Regions from separate parts of the Homo sapiens genome. Here region 2 is linked to region 1. The links are contacts of gene promoters, found by promoter capture Hi-C in blood cells and fetal thymus (Javierre and others, 2016). All regions are on one chromosome and are shown on one strand. Each heading gives the region's core, a stretch centred on a gene start or on the middle of the fragment in contact. The rest is flanking DNA. Distances are from core to core; before and after follow the strand shown.

Evidence for each region. Contacts are between HindIII fragments. The CHiCAGO score rates a contact against its expected background, and 5 or more counts as called.
Region 2: a contact is called between a fragment that was not itself captured here and the fragment with the promoter of GARIN4 in region 1, in 3 of 17 cell types (M1 macrophages, M0 macrophages and M2 macrophages). The highest score is 6.6, in M1 macrophages.

What each region holds. Positions count from the first base shown.
Region 1 is chr1:212,622,589-212,625,830 of GRCh38, reverse strand. It overlaps GARIN4 (golgi associated RAB2 interactor family member 4), which reads right to left and starts at 1,357. Exons shown (of 1, transcript NM_153606.4): 1 at 1-1,357. The coding sequence starts at 953. The HindIII fragment of the contact is 9,349 bases long and covers 1-2,000 here.
Region 2 is chr1:212,454,494-212,458,196 of GRCh38, reverse strand. No RefSeq gene overlaps it. Among named protein-coding and RNA genes, the nearest start is that of LINC02771, 17 kb to the left of the region's middle. The HindIII fragment of the contact is 6,682 bases long and covers 1-3,703 here.

The DNA of each region.
Region 1 (3,242 bases), core at 108-2,607:
ATGGTGGCCGCCCCAGCTATGGCTGCGCTCACCTGTCCAGGGGCAGAATTGGCTGCTGCCACACTCAAGGCACCTGCTACGGTGCCTGTTGCTGCCCCTGCAGCTGCCCCTGCTGCTGCTGCCTCTTTAATCCCCCCTGTTGCTGGCTCCTCAGCAAGTTCTGTAGATGTTTTGGGGATGGATGCATTGAGCACATTAGTGGGTTTGTTAAAGTCATTTTGGAGTCCCTCCCCTCCAGCATAAGCAGCAGAGGTGGCCCCACACACCTCAGAGACCATGTGGAGGCTTTGGATGCTGACCTGGTCCTGATCCCCCTTTCCTTGAAGGTTCACGGCTCCCAGGCTCCTCCTGTCTTCCTGAAACACAGGCATCCACATCATGTCTTCAGCTGGAATGCCACAGGTACTGCTGTTACTCTCCATGGGTGGCCGCAAGAGGTAAATTAGTTTTTCCCAATAGGCAAAGAGGTCATCCCGTGTGTCAAGAGCGGGACACAATTGCAGATAGCAAGATCTGCCAGTGGCGAACTTCAGGCGCAGCTGTTGTTTCTCATGGTCTTGAACAGAGATCCGTACAAACCTCAGGGGCAGAAGCCTGGTGAGCTCTAAGTTCTTTGCTGCCTTGCGTTTTTTTCTCTTGGTGGCCTGGCCATGTCCAGCATACTCTTCGCAGCCGGTGGCCGGTCGTGCCAGTAGCATGACATCTGGGAGTGGGAGGATGGGGCTGGTACGTGCAATGCCCATGGTCACCATACGGACACGGTTGTGCACATCAATCACTTCTCCCCTTTTGGTGATCTGGATAAAGTCGCTCTCAAATATCGGTGCATACTTGAATATATCGTACTCCCCCTTGTACAGTTGTCGCTGCAGTTTCCCCATGGTGGTGTTGAACATGCTCATGCTGGAGCCACTCTGGGCCGTATAATACGGCAGCAGAAAATCAGCATTCATGGTTGTCTTTCAGCACAACGGCAGCACTGGTGAGGCAGGTCTCTGGGTCTTCCTTGGCCTCGGTGGCAGATGAGGGACCAGTGGTGCTCCTGGGTCACAAAGATGTCTCTGCAGCTGGTCTCTCAATCCCACCCCACCCCACAGGCCCCCACTGTTGCCTCAGAGCCTCCCAGAGGCCGGGGTGGGGGTGGGAGCACGGATGATTGCTGTGGGGGGTGCTGTAGGGTGCCTGGACTCCAGACTCTTCCAAGACGTAGAGATGCAGGGTGGGCTCCAGAGAGGTTTTCTTCTGGACCTAACCCCCTGACCTCCACCTCTGATTTTTTTAATTACAGTTTGTAGTCTCTCTCCCTGAGAGAGACTACAAACTGTAGTCCTAGTGACAGGAAGTGACGACCCTCTCTGCCTAAACCCCCTGTGCAGCCATATTTATCTTCTGCTTCCCTTTGTGACCTGTTGCTGTCACATACCCCTTTGTTCTCATCCCCCAGGCCAGGGCCACAATGCCCTCACTAATACTCCATTGCCCCCATAGAGGACAGCCCCACCGTGCCAGGTACTCAAGTGGGTGCCAAAATAAAAATTTTTCAAATGAGAAAATGTGTGGTTGCTTCCCCTTCCTCACCCCAAATTCAAAAGATTCAGCAACTAGGCAGAGTCTACAGGAACGCAAGATGATGGGATAAATTTGAACCATTTGAGTACACGGTTTAAATTTTTTTTTAACCTAGAATTCGCAGTCTTGGTTCTTAGCCCACTCTTCCATAAAATCTCAGTTCATGCTGACAATGGAAATCTTTAGTAATAACCTCAACCTTTAATAATAACATGAGAGATTGCTTCTTCTAGGCGCCATACTATGTATCAAACTCCATTCCAGTTTGATACTATTGCAACGCTTCTCATCTTACAGGTAAAAAAAACCTGAAGTTGTGAAACATACCTGCATTTGTAGAACTCGTAGGCAGTGGAGGTATTATTTGAATACAGGTCTTGCTGCTTTTAAAATCTTCCTTCTGAACCACTACAGAACTTACAAAAAAAGCTTGGGCAAGCCAAATAAGTTGCATAATTAATTCTGTGTGTGTGTGTGTGTGTGTGTGTGTGTATGCATGCATGTTATGGAGAATCCAGGACAACCACTTCAGAAAGGGGCTGGGCTGAGTGGGGGATTAAATTATCCAAGGGGCCACCTCTATTTCTCCTCCATCATGTTTATACCAACATCCTGTGTCAGGGAGCCCAAATATTTTCTCAAGGCCCCCAGTGTTTGCCCCGTGCCTCTTCTTACCCCCTACCCTGTGAAATGCCGGGAGAAGAGGGTAGGATGGAAAGTGTGAGCTTACATTCCAGGAGCCTATCAAAGGCCCTCCTCTACTAACCTCTCTACTATGCAGAAGTACTTTGGAAGCCATTTACATCCATGGGGAACAGGTGCTACTATACCTCCTGCCTTGCCATGCCCACAGAGCGAGCCCAGGAATAAGTAATTTCCAAGCTGTTACCTGGAAGTCCTGAAAAGGAGCACCTGCTTCCAACTCTCTTTTCTCCCAGCTTGACATCAGGCCTGAAATCCTACCTTAGAGATTCAGTTCTTGAAGATAAAGGCTAGCTGTTTCTTAACATACACACACCTGTCTATCAACTGATGAATGGATAAACAAAAAGTATAGTATCCATACAACAGAATACTATTCAGCCATAAAGAGAAATAAGGTACTATTACATAATACGCTAGGCTGACACTTGAAAACATTATGCTAAGTGAAAGAAGCCAGCCGTATTGTGCGAAAGGCCACATATTGTATGATGCTATTTACATAAAATATCCAGCGCAGGCAAGTCCATAGAAACAGAAGACAGATTAGTGGTTGCCAGAGACTGGAAGGAAGGGGAATGAAGAGTGACTCCTTAATGGGTACAGGATTTCCTTTGGGGACAGTGAAAAAGTTCTGGAACTAGATAGTAATGGTTACACTGCATTGTGAATGTACTTAATGGCACTGAATTGTACACTTCAAAATAGTTACAATGGCAAATTTTTTGTATATCTTACCACGCACACACACACAAATGTATATACTCTTGTTTGAAATCATTGCTGTTGAAAACAAGCATAGGCTTCAGCTTTGGAAAGATCCACTGTGAGACCTCGAGCAAGTTACTGAGCTCTCCACTCCCTCATCTGTAAAATGGGGGTAGCAGTTGTTGTGAGGATTAAATGGGATAATACATGTGAAGTGTTTAGTGTATTGTCCTACGCAATAAATGTTAGCTTCTGTTAGCATT
Region 2 (3,703 bases), core at 1,057-3,556, 170 kb after region 1:
CACCTTGTGGGGCTGGAACCAGACATCTGGTGAGGTGGGGGGTGCCTGCCGGCTGGTGTTGGCCTCTGAATTAGGGGTGAAGTTAGTTCTACAAGTGTTAGAAAGATTGTAAACTGAATTTAGCTGCTGCTATGGTAAGGAACTGCTGCTGCCGGGGTGAAGAAGTACTACCGGAGCCGCTTACAAGAACAGAAGTAAACAAGAAAAAGAGGGCTTCCCTCCAGCTTTCCAGTGTCCTTCTAGCACCCCCTACTGGCTGAATCCGATAGGAAGCAGCTGCCAAAGCCAAAAGTGGTTTGCCAAGTCCCAGCCCTACCATCAAAGAAGAGAGAATAGAAGAAGGACTAGAGTGACCAGGAGCTGAAGCCTGAGCCTGCTCTCATGCACACATGTGTGCACGCACACTTGCCTATGCTCACAGGTATACACCTACACATGGACCACAAGCGCCCTCTCCACAGATTTGATTGTGGGTCCTACGCTTTGGGTGTCACGCAAAGTCAGCAAACCTCAAGGCCTTGACTACAGAGACTTTTCTGATTCTGAAACTCCGGCCTCAAACATCACCCATCATCGTCCCATCCCCAAACAGCCACCAGTTTGAGTCCTTTCTGTAAAAAGGAAGCTCAGAGTTCTCCATCTCTGGAGAGATACCTGGGCTTTCAGGGAGAAAATGTCAACAGCAGCCACCCCATGTCTCCTGGAGGGGACTCCAGTAGAGGCCCAGGGAAAAGCAAGCTCTGCACCAAACTGCCCAGTGTGTAGTGAACACAACAGAGCTCATTTACCAACAGGAGGCACACACTAAACACATTCTTCTGGTCTCTGCTTAATCCCAGCTCATTCTGTCTTATTAGGTCCCTCTGCTCTCCTATTGTTTTCCACCACTGTGCATTGCTGTGTCGTTCAGAGCATGTGTCACAGTGTGCTTTTTTTTTTTCCAAAATGTGCTGTCTGTCTATCTCCTCCTCTAGATTGCCAACTCACAAGAGTGGGGCCATGCCAGCTTCTTCCACCCCTGCAGACTCAGGGCCTGGCACATCATAAGTCTCAAGTGTTTGTCAAATGAATCTATTAAAAAATAGAAAATGGCTCTAGAGGCATTGAGATAAATGGACAGGTGATGGATCTGTAGATTGGGGTGTATGCGACATAACGAACTCTGAGGAATGTTGTGGAAGGCAATTGCTCTCCTGTCCTACAAACCATCTCCAGATAAAGAGGACAGCAGGCAGGATGACTGCTCTGCCATCATGGTGTTTCTGCTGTGCTTGTGACTCTGTTCAGCCCTGTACATCCATGGAGATTAGGGCCTGAACCCAGGCTTCTCCCCTCATCCCAACTTCACCTCTGCTTCTTGGAAGGCATGGGGCTCATTGAGTGTTATAGCTGGTGGGACCCTATAGATTACAAAGGTGGCTCCACATCACCATCACCTGGGGAACATTTAAAAACATCAGTGTCTGGACACTACCACTAGTTTCCGATTCTTTGAGTTCCACAGTTCAGTGTAGCATAGTGGATGCCCAGAAACATGAACTCAAGTCCTAACTCTGCCACATACTGTATGATCTTGGCCAAGTTACTTGACTTCTCTCTGCCTCGATTTCTGGAGATGACAGCAGTATCAATCTCACAGGCTTGTTGTGAGGATCAAAGTCAACAATGTATGTGAAGCTCTTGGTGCAATGTCTGGCTCAGAGTAAATACTGAATAAAATGTAGCTATTATTGAAATTATTATCTCACAGCTACTTAGCGGCTGGCGTGGGATGAGCCTCCTGATCCTGGATCCAGTGTTCTTTCCAACACGTCACTCTGAATGTGCACACAGCCTGAGGTCAGACTCGGCAAGGCAAACATATAGTTGCTCTCCCTGGGACCCTTTAATTAAACCGTATGGAACAGAGAACTGCCCCTGAGAACCAACAGCAGATCTGACCCCTGGGAAGCAGAGAGCTGGAGAACACAGGAGTTCGGCAGTGCAGCTTTCAGGTCCTTTGGGAAGCCATTTGGCTGCTTCTGTTAGCATTTCATTATGGAAATACTGGGAACCAAAAATAGAAGTTCTTGAGGGAGCTTAATCCTCTGGGCTTTACAAAACAGCTGCTGGAGAGTTCCCGGAATTGACCACCAGGGGGCACTGTCGTCCCATGCAGGCAGCTGCTGGTGGGTCGGACCAGGACAGAAGTGTCCAAGAAAAAACCAACACCCTTCAGCAAGCTCCTACCCCAAGCCTGCCTTGCTGGGGACTCTGTGGCTGGGATCCCTGTGGATCTCCACAGCTCCTGGTCCTAGAGAAACCACTTTGCAACTCAGCCCACTGCTCTCCTCTTTGGGGACCCTTAAGAGCAGAGCAGGTTCCTGCATTTATTTTAATCGATCCTTCCTCCCACCTCACCCCAAAACCAGGACCTAGGGCAGTGCTGGACATATAATAAGCAAGAAATATGCATCTCCTTTGTTGATTAATGGATATGTGAAATCAGGTGCAATTGTTAAATTGTGGGACGTATCAAATAACAAAATTTCAATAAATTGAGCTGTAAAGGTCTAGTTTGCCTTTATTAGCAATTCATGAACTGGGCAGTATCCAGTCTACAAAATAAAAAGGAACTCCCATGAGCTGAGCTAAGGGCTGAGCTTATAGGCAGAAAAGGCTGAAGAAAGCCAAAACAAGAAATAAGATGCAGATTGGCCGTTTCAAAGTTACTTTCCTTATTGAGGATCTTGTTAGCCTAATGGGATATGACTATCAACTCTCTCCTGATTTCTCAGAAGCTCAGATCCAAGTAAACAGCTTCGTTTTTGGTTTCGTGGTGCGGAACCTTAGTGTGAGTGACTCCATTTTGGATGGGTCTGTTGGACCCTAATGCAGGAGGTCAGTCCAAATAATGGCCTCCCATACATTTTGTTTAACAGAAGGAAACTGCTTGATCTTTGAAGGAATGGCAGAGAGAGTGCAGTGGTGTGAATCAGACAGAGGTTATGAGTGACAGTTAAGGGGAGGGTCATGGATAAACGGGAAAGGGGAAGAAGTGAGAGGGCTCAGGCAGGAAGGCAACAGATGTATTTCAGGGATCCTGAGTAGTAAGAGATTCCTCAATGTGGAGGCCAAATCCAGAAATATGGGGGAGATTAGACAAGGGAGTCCCAGCCACAGCTCACATGGCCTCCAGGTGGGCATCACCGGCCACCACAGCCACTATGACCTCTCCTATCTTTGGGGTGGCTTGCAGCTGCCACCAGCAGGCTCTGAGCTCCCACAGGTGGGCCTGGGTCCCACGACCTCCCTCTGGGTGATGCCATGGGGCTTAGTACCCTGAGCCTGTATCACACATCCTTAGTCCGAGAGAGCCTCTCTCAAATGACAGCAGGTCTTGTTCACCACAGAATTCTGTGAAGACTAGAGCACAAGAAATACTTGTTAACTAAAGGATTAAACTATGTGTTAAAAAAAAAAAAAAAAAAAAAAAGCAAAACAAGGCCAGGTGTAGTGGCACATGCCTACAATCCCAGCACTTTGGCAGGCCGAGGCAGGAGGATTACTTGAGATCAGGAGTTCAAGACCACCCTGGCCAACATAGTGAAACTCTGTCTTTACTAAAAGTAAAAAAATTAGCCGGGTGTGGTGGCAGGTGCCTGTAATCCCAGCTACTTGGGAGGCTGAGGCAGGAGAATCACTTGAACCCAGGAGGCAGAGG